Linked DNA regions of Homo sapiens: regions 1, 2 and 4 are each linked to region 3. The links are contacts of gene promoters, found by promoter capture Hi-C in blood cells and fetal thymus (Javierre and others, 2016). All regions are on one chromosome and are shown on one strand. Each heading gives the region's core, a stretch centred on a gene start or on the middle of the fragment in contact. The rest is flanking DNA. Distances are from core to core; before and after follow the strand shown.

What was found. The method cuts DNA at HindIII sites, captures the fragments that hold promoters and counts their contacts. A CHiCAGO score of 5 or more calls a contact.
Region 1: a fragment that was not itself captured here is called in contact with the fragment with the promoter of CYP2R1 in region 3 in 2 of 17 cell types (naive B cells and naive CD4 T cells); the score reaches 6.7 in naive B cells.
Region 2: a fragment that was not itself captured here is called in contact with the fragment with the promoter of CYP2R1 in region 3 in 13 of 17 cell types (naive CD8 T cells, total CD4 T cells, naive CD4 T cells and 10 more); the score reaches 13.5 in naive CD8 T cells.
Region 4: a contact is called between a fragment that was not itself captured here and the fragment with the promoter of CYP2R1 in region 3, in 1 of 17 cell types (naive B cells). The highest score is 5.1, in naive B cells.

The regions. Positions count from the first base shown.
Region 1 is chr11:14,471,050-14,473,935 of GRCh38, reverse strand. All of the region lies in intron 14 of COPB1 (coat protein complex I subunit beta 1), which reads left to right. Among named protein-coding and RNA genes, the nearest start is that of COPB1, 27 kb to the left of the region's middle. The HindIII fragment of the contact is 268 bases long and covers 1,118-1,385 here.
Region 2 is chr11:14,454,279-14,457,036 of GRCh38, reverse strand. No RefSeq gene overlaps it. Among named protein-coding and RNA genes, the nearest start is that of COPB1, 44 kb to the left of the region's middle. The HindIII fragment of the contact is 615 bases long and covers 1,125-1,739 here.
Region 3 is chr11:14,890,751-14,893,597 of GRCh38, reverse strand. It overlaps CYP2R1 (cytochrome P450 family 2 subfamily R member 1), which reads left to right and starts at 1,367. Exons shown (of 5, transcript NM_024514.5): 1 at 1,367-1,617. The coding sequence starts at 1,393. It also overlaps a transcript of PDE3B not described here. RefSeq lists a silencer at 1,620-1,859. The HindIII fragment of the contact is 6,013 bases long and covers 1-1,403 here.
Region 4 is chr11:14,599,912-14,602,988 of GRCh38, reverse strand. It overlaps a transcript of PSMA1 not described here. Among named protein-coding and RNA genes, the nearest start is that of PDE3B, 42 kb to the left of the region's middle. The HindIII fragment of the contact is 2,180 bases long and covers 695-2,874 here.

The DNA.
Region 1 (2,886 bases), core at 2-2,501, 420 kb after region 3:
TTGAAAACAATGCAGTGTAACAATTATTTACATAGCATTTACAGGCATACTTCATTTTATTGTACTTTGCACATATTGCTTTTTTTTTTTTTTTTAAACAAATGAAGGTTTGTGGGAACCCTGAGTTGAGCAAGTCTGTTAGCATCATTTTTCCAAATAAGCATATGCTCACTTCATATCTCTGTGTTACATTTTGGTAATTCTCACAATATTTCAAACTTTTTCATTATTATTACATCTGTTATGGTGATCTGTTATCAGTGATCTTTAATGTTACTATCATAGTTGTTTTGGGATGCCAGGAACCATTCCCATATAAAATAGTAAACGTAATCAATAATTGTTGTGTGTGTTCCGGCTGTTACCCCGTCTCTTTCCTCCTTGGGCCTCCCTATTCTATTCCCTGAGATACCACAATATTGAAATTAGGCCGGTTAATAATCCTACAGTGGCTTCTAAGTGAAGGGAAGAGTCACATGTCTTTCACTTTAAATCAAAAGTGAGAAATAATTAAACTTAGTAAGGAATGCATGTCAAAAGCTGAGCTAAGCCAAAAGCTAGGCTGCTTTTGCCAAGTAGGTAGCCAAGTTATGCATGCAAAGGAAATGCTCTTAAAGGAAATTAAAAGTGCTACTCCAGTAAACACATGAATGATAAGAAAGTGAAACATTTGGCAGGCGTGGTGACTCACACCAGCACTTTGGGAGGCCCGAGACAGGCGGATCACGAGGTCAGGAGTTCGAGACCAGCCTGGCCAACATGGTGAAACCCTGTCTCTACTAAAAATACAAAAATTAGCCAGGTGTGGTGGCAGGCGCCTGTACTCCCAGCTACTTGGGAGGCTGAGGCAGGAGAATTGTTTGAACATGGGAGGCAGAGGTTGCAGTGAGCTGACATCACACCACTGCACTCCAGCCTGGGAGACAGAACAAGACTCCGTCTCGAGGAAAAAAAAGAAGAAGAAAGAAAGCGAAATAGCTTTATTGCTGATAGAAAGTTTGAGTGGTCTGGATAGAAGATAAAACCAGCCACAAGATTCCCTTAAGCCAAAAGCCTAATCCAGACTAAGACCTTAACTCTCTTCAATTCCATGAAGGCTGAGAGAGGTTAGGAAGCTTCAGAAGAAGAGTTTGAAGCTAGCAGAGGTTGATTCATGAGGTTTAAGGAAATAAGCCCGTCTTCATAATGTAAAAGTTTGACATGAAGTAGCAAGTCCTAATGGAGAAGCTGTGGCAAGTTATCTGGAAGATCTAGCCAAGATCATTGGTGAAGGTGACCACACTAAACAACAGATTTTCAGTGTAGACTAAACAACCTTATATTGGAAGAAGATGCCATCTAGGACTTTGGTAGCTAGAGAGAAGTCGGTGCCTGGCTTCAAAGCTTCAAAGGATAGGCTGACTCTTTTGGTAAGGGCTAATACAACCAGTAACTTAAGTTGAAGCCATTGCTCATTTCCCATTTTGAAAATCCTAGGGCTCTTAAGAATTGTGCTTAATCAACTCTGTCTGTGCTCTGTCAGTGGAACAACAAAGCCTGGATGTCAGCACATCCTCTTTACGGGATGGCTTACTAAGTATTTTAAGCTCACCATTGAGACCTACTGCTCAGAAATAAAAGACTCCTTTTAAAATATTACTGTTCATTGACAATTTAGCTGGTCACCCAAGAGCTCTGATGGAGATGTAGAAAGAAATGAATGTTTTCATGCCTGCTAAGACAACATCCATTATGCTGCCACTGATCAAGTAGTTTCAACTCTTATTATTTAAGAAACAGAATCCATAGAACATTTGTGGTAGTAGCGCAGAGTTGGTTACAATGTCCTACCACAGCAATTTCTGACATTCAAATTGGGCCTGTAGCAATGGGACTCCTTTTGATTCCTTCAGCTTTCGTATTATGTTGGTTATCTATACAGCAGGTTTCTAAATTGAAACACTTTCACTCACATCACTCATATTTCCTTCGTTTTTGGAGACTAACAGCTTGATCTAAAAAAAAATTTTTTTTTAGACGGAGTCTCACTCTTCTTGCCCAGGCCGGAGTGCCATGGCATGATCTCAGCTCACTGCAACCTCCGCCTCCTGGGTTTAAGCAATTCTCCTGGCTCAGCCTCCCGAGTAGCTGGGGCTACAGGCGCCTGCCACCACGCCTGTCTAATTTTTTTTGTATTTTTAGTAGAGACTGGGGTTTCACCATGTTGACCAGGCTGGTCTCGAACTGCTGACCTCAGGTGATCCGCCCACCTCGGCCTCCCAAAGTGCTGGGATTACAGGCATGAGCCACCGTGCCTGGCCAGGTTCTTTTTGTTTTTGTTTTAATTCCATTATAAGAAAAGCCATAAATGAGAGCCAGATAATTTACAAGGTATATTATCCCTTAATTGATTTGATTTTTGAGCAATAATTTATTTTGTAACTCTTTTGTGGGCATTTATTTATTCAGGTCTGGTCACAGTATAATCTTTAAAGTATGTTTTTTAAAAGTCTCCAACATTTTTTTATCTCAGAGTTGAATTTGCTTTCCTCTCCTGGTTGCATCACTTCTGGAAGTTGGGAGTGTTTACTGATACCTGCTTAAAAGAGCCAGTTTCTTGTAACATACCGAGTTAATAATGTTTGCACTGTTTGGTACAAGAAGGAAGTTTGGTTGCTTATAATCTCACTGGCACTCCTTCATTTATGCCATTTCCAACACTCTTCATTTCTTTGTGTAGGACTAAGTTTCTGGTATCATACATCTTTTGCCTAAAGAATTTGCTTTAACTTTTCTTATAGTGCAGATTTGTTGGCAACAGATTGTTCCAGTTTTTGTCTGGAAAAAGCCTATTTTTTTGTACACTTTAGAAAGTTACCTTTGTGGGTATAGGATTCTAAGTCTTCT
Region 2 (2,758 bases), core at 183-2,682, 440 kb after region 3:
CTCCTGACCTCGTGATCCGCCCGCCTCAGCCTCCCGGAGTGTTGGGATTACAGGCGTGAGCCACCGCACCCGGCCCAAAATAACTTGAGAAAACAGATCGCTCTGCAGTTTAAAGAAGTATTATGTACCCGAACTGAAATAGATATACTGTTCTTAATTATCCTGAATCATAATGAAGAGTAGATAATCCAAAATAGATTTTTTAATCATTCACATTTAGTTTGGGGTGTTCTATGTTTGTTAGGAATAAAACTGGTTCTAACCAATTACTGAAGCTGGTACTGGGAGGATTCAACTAGAGAGGATTCAAAAAGCTGCCTTTTTCTCTGTTGCCTCCGTGCCTTACTCACATTTAGTTTAGGGTGTTCTATGTTTGTTAGGAATAAAACTGGTTCTAACCAATTACTGAAGCTGGTACTGGGAGGATTCAACTAGAGAGGATTCAAAAAGCTGCCTTTTTCTCTGTTGCCTCTGTGCCTTACTCACTCGTCTCCTTTTCCTCACTTCACACTAGGACTGGGTACCATCACACTGCAGTATAATTCCAAATGCATTTCCAAGCTAAGTTTCCCAGCGTCTGATTGTGCTTTCCTTTTGGCCTTTACTTTCATTGGGGGTGATTGAGGTAGTCTGATTTTTTAGCTAAGTCTAAACTTAAGGCTATTATTTGTCTACCAGCTAGGGTTCAGGCTGCATTCCCTGTGAGTCCTTAGATAAGGTCTGTGAAAGACTGAAAGCATCTCCTATTTCATTAAGAATGAAATGATTTGTTTGGAGTATAAGGAGATTGATACCTTGTATGATGTCATAAACTGTGAAGCCACTTGCTTTTAAAAAAAAAAAAAGAAAAAAAAAGCCTAGATTACAGGGCATTTGAGATTCCAGAACACTGAGATCTTAGAACAAAGCCAGGGCTTATCAAATGGGAAAGATATACTGGAAGTGCAGAGAAGGGATGTCGATTCAAGGGTAGAGATTTGCAATGAGAGCGAAGGAGCTGGTGCAACTTTGGATTAGATCATCATTTCCCAAACTCTGTTCTACTGAACATTAGCTTCCTTAGATGTCATTAGATATTCTGAGTGAAAAAGTAATTCCATAGTCAAGTAAGTTGGGGAAAAGCTTCAAACTGTCCTGCACTGGAGATTCACAATGTACATTAGCATACCAGAGATTCTGAGAGGAAAGCAGATTAGTTTGGTTTAACCCAGTATATCCTAACCTTACTTTACCAGGGAATCCTTTTTCCATGACCTATTGACAATATATGGGACAGGAAAAGTGACTTAGCCTGTTAATGATATTAGTGTTGTAATCACAGTTAACCAGTATCACATTTCATATCTGAAGGAATTATGCCTGTGTACATCCTAGAATATATCTCGGTTGATACTCTTAGAAAGTTGCCTGCCTGACATATTCAGGCCATTTTTGTTGGAATCAGATTGCCTCACATTGCCATTTTCTTAAATTCATAAATAAGGAGAACAAAGAAGTTAACACAATTGTCAGATACATTAAACTGTTTACTTCATTAGCATTTCATTAGCTTTGTGCATGTAATAAATGTGAACTGAATTGGATAGCAGCACATTGTTGAAAGAAGCTGTTTACACTATGCCCTGTTATTTGGGATATAATATACATTCAAAGATAGTAGCTGTTCACATTATAAGATACCATATAATTAGGACCATGATGTCCGGTAGAGAATAAACATTAAATACCAAATGAAAGCTTAATATATTAATGTATTGAATGTGGATAAACCTGTAAAGCTTACAGGAGCATTAAATGGCTTACATTGCAGTAATGTCACAACACTAGAGGGAGCTCTGTGCAGTGATTTTTTTTTTTTTTTTTTTTTTTTTTCATTTTGCAATTAGAAGAGATTGGCACTCAGTTGTTTTATAAGAAGAAAAAGGGTCAAGTGTGGTGGCTCGCACCTATAATCCCAACACTTTGGGAGGCCAAGGCTGGAGGGTGGATTGAGGCCAGGAATTCAAAACCAACCTGGGCAACATAGACCCTGTCTCTACAAAAAAATTTTACAAATTAGCCTGGTATGGTGGCATGTGCCCGGGAAGCTGAATCGGGAGAAATTCTCGGGACCAGGAGTTCAAGGCTGCAGCGAGCTATGATTGTGCCGCTGCAGTCCATCCTGGGTGACAGGGTGAGACTCCCTCTCTTTTAAAAAAAAATTTTTTTTTAAAGGAGCCTGGGCATGGTGGTTTATGCCTGTAATCCCAACACTTTCGGAGGCCAAGGTGGGAGTATCACTTGAGCCCAGAAGTTCAAGACCAGCCTGAGCAACAAAGAGATCCCCCATCAAAAAAAAAAAAATTTAAGAAAAAGCAAGATTATTTTTCCTTTTTTAAAAAACTTTTTTTTTTTTTTTTGAGACGGACTCTGGCTCTGTCACCAGGCTGGAGTGCAGTGGCACAATTGGCTCACTGCAACCTCCACCTCCCTGGTTCAAGCAATTCTCCTGCCTCAGCCTCCTGAGTAGCTGGGACTACAGGCGTGGGCCACCATGCCCAGCTAATTTTTATCTATTTTTAGTAGAGATGGGTTTTCACCATATTGGCCAGGATGGTCTCAATCTCAACCTCGTGATCTGCCTACCTCAGCCTCCCAAAGTGCTGGGATTACAGGCGTGAGCCACGGTGCCCGGCCTTTTTTTTTTTTTTTGGGACGGGGTCTGGCAGTGGTGCGATCTTGGCTCACTGCAACCTCCACCTCTCTCACCTCATCACCC
Region 3 (2,847 bases), core at 118-2,617:
TCTAGAAGCTGAAAAAGACAAGGAAATAGAATCTCTCCTACAGTCTCTAGAAAGAATGAAGCCCCACTAACACCTCTCTGTCAGCCCTGGAAGACTCATTTTGGACTTCTCACCTCAAGAATTGTAAGAAAATAAATTTGTGTGGTTTTAAGCCATCAGATTGGTGGTAATTTATTACAACAGTAGTAGGAAACAAATACACTTCTTTAGCAGTTGATCTCAGCTCCAATGTCATCTTCCTAATAAGACTTTCCTTGACAGCCCTTGCCTGCTAAAGTATCTCCCCAACCACCAGGCGTTTTCTATAACGCACTTTTTGTTTGCTTCTGATTATTGAAAATTATTGTATTTCCATGTCATTGCTCTTCCCTCTCATAAGAATGTAAGTTATAGAAAGGACTTTGTTGCTCTTATTCACCTATGTATCTCCATTGCTTAGGACATGGGAACATAGTAGACATTCAATAAATATTTGTTGTGTGAATGAGTCGTAAGCTAATGAGGACCATAAAACTCATGCCACTGCTAAATCACAATTAGAGGGCAGCTGTTAGAAGAGTCCCAAACCCAGTAAGTCCTGTATTGCAAGGAACTGCCCAATAGAAAACAGGAATAAAAACAATTAGCAAGAATAATATGAAATCAGTTGCTTAATTCCAGGCAGTGGAGGCAGAAATCTTGAATAGTAAATACTCTCCGTGAACAAGTGCAGACAAGAGTCCCGTGATTGCCAATAAGTAATCAGTTTGGAAAGACCAGAGAGGGGTCAAATATAGGTAAACTGAGTTAATCACATAAACTGCTCAATCATCACAATTATTAAAAGATCACACACAAAAATACATTAACAGGAGAAAAATAGTAAAACAGGACAAAACAGTAAAATTACTTTCTTTTACTACTGATGGGTCAATTTTCTACTGGAAATTCTGAAAAGTATCAGGTTCAGCTAAAGACTGCAGTGTTGATCATCTCTCCAGTTTTCCTAGTGTGAAATGAAATAAGCAGACCTGGTACTTAAAAAGACACTTTAAGAAAGGTCTGGCCCCAGAGAGGCAGGATCCGCCTAGCCCAGTGAGTGAGGCCGTCCTGACACCTCGTCAATGCCCTTGTGTCAACATTCTAGAAAACGGACTCCTGGCTCATTGCTCCGCCTAGAGCCGCGCCACCTCCAAAGGGTAGCACCGGCCACCCGCTCCGCAAAGTCCACTCTCAGCCGCGCAAAACTAGAAGGTAGTTGTCCCGAAGGGGCCTGAGCGCTCACTCAGTCAGCCAATGGCCACGGAGCTAGGGCGGGACCTGAGGGTATCCTGCCAATGGGAGTATGGCAGGGCTGGAGGGAGTGCCTGGGTCTCAGGGCTGCTGTGGAGTTCGCACCTCCAGCTCGGGCCGATGTGGAAGCTTTGGAGAGCTGAAGAGGGCGCGGCGGCGCTCGGCGGCGCGCTCTTCCTGCTGCTCTTCGCGCTAGGGGTCCGCCAGCTGCTGAAGCAGAGGCGGCCGATGGGCTTCCCCCCGGGGCCGCCGGGGCTGCCATTTATCGGCAACATCTATTCCCTGGCAGCCTCATCCGAGCTTCCCCATGTCTACATGAGAAAGCAGAGCCAGGTGTACGGAGAGGTACAGCCCCGACGGGCCCCGGGCAGGGAGGGCCGCCAGGCTGGCCCGGGCTGGCCAGGGCCTTCCTGGTTGGACTTATGGCCGCCCCTGGGCCGACTAGTCGGGACCTCTCCGTGTGCCGGCTGCCCTTTGAGGGACACCCGCTTCCCGGGTCTGGAAGGGAGAAGTCCTCGACGCCGTGCCCCCTTGCAGGGGGAGCCCCGCCCCTGCCGGTGACCCACTCCGGGCCGAGGCTCCGAGGCGATCCAGTCCTGATTTTCCCGCTACCGCTCGAGCTCTTGCTCCTGCGCCTGCGCCGTTTGGCTCGCCAGCCGCGCCGCCACTTCAGGTCCAGGGTGGACGCATGCCCTCAGGTGCGGGCGTCTTGCGAGTCGGCCTCGCAGCTCTGTGGAAGCTGCACGCGGCTTGTCGGAAAATCAAGGCGTTCTGAGTTCTAGATGGTTAATAGCAGGTTCTTCGGTGTCTGCAGTCGACGAACGACTGGTGTAGGCGTTTGCTGTGAGAATGGAGAATGCAGGGGAACGCCCCTGACTGAGAAGCGGGCCCTGGGAAACGATTGTGAACGCGTGAATGAATTGATGACTAAAATCCGCTGCGGGGGTCCTACAGCGCAGATGGTAATGCCGTTCTGACTGGCTGGGAACGGCACCTTAGCAGATACTTAAAAGGCGCCTTCTGTGTGCCACTGTCACTGCCAACTTGGTGACTCATTTAAAACTCATAACCAGCCGGTGAGGTCGGTACTTCGCTCCTCCTCATTCTGCGGAGGGGAAAGCAGCACGGAAATGCCCTGTGACTGGCAGCGGAAAAGGCGACCACCGCTTGTGTGTGGGTGTCCCGACGTCCGGAGGGGGCAGGAGTTTCCACGGGTCCTGGGACAGAGCTCACCTGTTTTGTTTTGAATTACACTTATTTATATGCAACTACAGGCCTGACGCTAGCGGTGAAGAAGGCAGATACAGCCTTTTAAGGAGTTGGCAGATGAGTGGGAGAGAGAAAACTAATCTCATTATCGGCCACAGGCTGTGGTCAGTGTTTTGAAGGAAAAGTACAGGGATGTTTGGCAACTGTGGTATTTCAGGTTTGACCTTAAATCCTTACTTAAACCAATTTTTACAAGGATTGGTCTAGGTGCCCGGGCGCGGTGGCTCACGCCTATAATCCCAGCACTTTAGGAGGCCGAGGCGGGCGGATCACGAAATCAGGAGATCGAGACCGTCGTGGCTAACA
Region 4 (3,077 bases), core at 535-3,034, 290 kb after region 3:
CCCCCACATCTATAGTGTGGGTGAAACATTGACCTTCAACTGGTTACTTATGTCTCCCCGCACAGCCATGGAAATCAGGTGAACCCATCCTGTATTGGGGTCACTTGATCTTTCTGAGCGGAACTCACGTGAAATCTGAAATGGCTCCAGGTCTGCTGAGCCCACACCTAATCCATGAGAAACACTCACCATCTTTGTTCCTGCTTTCAGTGTAAATTCAGTTAGTACTCAATGCAGGCTGGGTTCTGCCTTTCTCTATATATTTACCTGCACTTTAGACCAGTATCTGCAGCCTCTTGTCTTGCACATCCAAGTTTATTTATTTAAACTTTATCACCGCCAACAGCCATTTTTAGTACCTTCCAAAAGGCTACTCCAAGATTATGAGCATGACTTTCTACTCCTCCCATCAAAAAAAGGTCAAATTTCATACACTTTGTAGACTGTAAAATTACAAGAAAAATAATATATATACATATACATATATAGAAATCAGTTTCTATTACTATGATTTTTTTTTCATACCTCTGGAAGTCTAAAAGGAGCTGGAAAGCCTGGCCCAGAGCTCTCCACCCAATGAATGTACCAGGTCAAGGAAGATAATATAAAACAAAGTCCACTCTTTTCTCCCAAACAAATGTCCCAAAGAGGTGGTGATAAATGAGACAGTTTTCCTTGCTACTCCCAAAAAGCTTGGTGATAGCTCAGCCTTTTCATGGCCAAGACAGTTTTGCCCAGGTGTCTAGTTCTGGGAAACGGTCTCTATCACATAACTGAAATTCCCTCTCCAATTGTAATTTAGTGTTCATGAGTTTCTCCATCCTGCTGGATCCTCTTGCTCTAATGGGAGGGATCTAAAAAATAGATGTGCCATTATAGATGGTTCTACTGAGCCGGAGCTAGGACCCACTTATGCATGTGTGCTATGCTGGGTGTGAAGTATGAAGCCATGAATCTATAGTGAGGAACCAATGAGGGCTCTATGTAAAGAATGAGAGGATTGACTAAATTTAGGGTAGACGTTAAAGGTGGAGAATGGTGAAGGGTGCGGGTAAACATTGATATCCTTACCTTTTTCTGACAGTAAGCCCTTCACAAGATTTTCTCATGCATGAGGTTATTTGGCATGGACCTTGACAGAATTCTCATTTAGCAAAATTGTTATGTACATAGGTATTGAGAGTTAGACAACTTGGATTTTAATCTCATTCTTTCACTTACTAGATATATGGCCTCGGACAAGTTACCTGAGCAAGTTCATGGAGTTGGGAGTAAGGGTGTTCACTTTTGCTTCTTAAGGCATCTATAAATCTTTTAAACTCTGATTCTGAAGCCCATGACATCCTGATTTTCCCCAAAGTGAGCATGTAGACAGGATTATGTGATCACGAAGAACCCCTTGTTCTATTTACATTAAGCCTCCATTCACCCAGAGTTACCAGCTCAAGAGACTGAGTCGGAGAGAGTTTACATCTTCTCCAGGCCATATCTAGAGGCTTTCAGGCAATAATGCAGGTAGCTAGATTTGTGTTTTGAGGTGGAAGAACGGCAGCCTTTGGTGGGTTTCAAGTGCAAATTTCATCCCAGACCCAGGGATAGTTATGTAGCTGGGCATCCAGGAGGCTAGAACTTAGTTTAGGAACAGGAAAGAATCCCTAAAATCCTTGTCTGTAGTAGTTTGGGGATTTTTACTCCAGTATTACACCATTGATCTGTCAGCTACTCCTCTCATGTTTGTTTCCAACACAAGTCCCACTCCCCCCAGTTTAGGCAGCACCCTTGAGTTAGCACTGACCCATTTGTGTTGCAAGACCCCGTGCATGTTGCTTGTGTAAATGATGTTTGGCTCCTTACTCCTGAAATAGCCAACTGGCAGTCACCTGAAATAGGGAGTCAAAGCTGAATTTCTAAAATGGAATAATGCATGACATAATGCTATTTACTGGGAATGAGTGATTTGTTTCCCTGTCTAAACTTTAATTTCTTTAACAGTGCTTCCAAGATATTTGGTTTTAAAAAAAACACATAAGAATACTAAACAAAAAATTGGAACTACACAAAAGTGGGAAAGAATGCCAATGTGAAAGCCAGAAATAAAGAAATGTTGGAGCATTCCAAGATGGCCAAATAGGAACAGCTCCTGTCTGCAGCTCCCAGCAGGATCGACGCAGAAGATGGGTGATTTCTGCATTTCCAACTGAGGTACCTGGTGCATCTCACTGGGACTGGTTGAACAGTGGGTGCAGCCCACAGAGGGCGAGCAGAAACAGGGTGGGGCATAACCTCACCTGGGAAGCACAAGGGGTCAGGGGATTTCCCTTTCCTAGCCAAGGGAAGCCATGACAGACTACCTGGGAAAATGGGACACTCCCGCTCAAATACAGTGCTGTTCCCAAGGTCTTAGCAACCAGCAGACAAGGTGATTCTCTTCCGTGCCTGGCTCGGCGGCTCCCACACCCACAGAGCCTTGCTCACTGCTAGCTCAGCAGTCTGAGATTGATCTGCGAGACAGCAGCCTGGCTCGGGGAGGGGCATCCACCATTGCTGAGGCTTGAGTAGGTAAAAAAGCGGTGGGAAACTCGAACTGAGCGGAGCCCACAACAGCTTAACAAGGCCTACTGCCTCTAGACTTCACCTCTGTGGGCAGGGCATAGCTGAACATAAGGCAACGGACAACTTCTGCAGACTTAAACGTCCCTGTCTCATAGCTCTGAAGAGAGCAGTGGTTCTCCCAGCATAGCGTTTGAGCTCTGAGAACGGACAGACTGCCTCCTCAAGTGGATCCCTAACCTCCGTGTAACCTAACTGGGAGACACCTCCCAGTAGTGGCCAACAGACACCTCATATAGGTGGCTGCCTCTCTGGGACGAAGCTTCCAGAGGAAGGACCAGACAGCAATGTATGCTGTTCTGCAGCCTCTGCTGGTGACACCCAGGCAAATAGGGTCTGGAGTGGAACTCCAGCAAACTCCAACAGACCTGCAGCTGAGGGACTTGACTGTTAGGAGGAAAACTAACAAACAGAAAGGAATAGTATCAACATCAACAAAAAGGTCATCTACACCAAAACCCCATCTG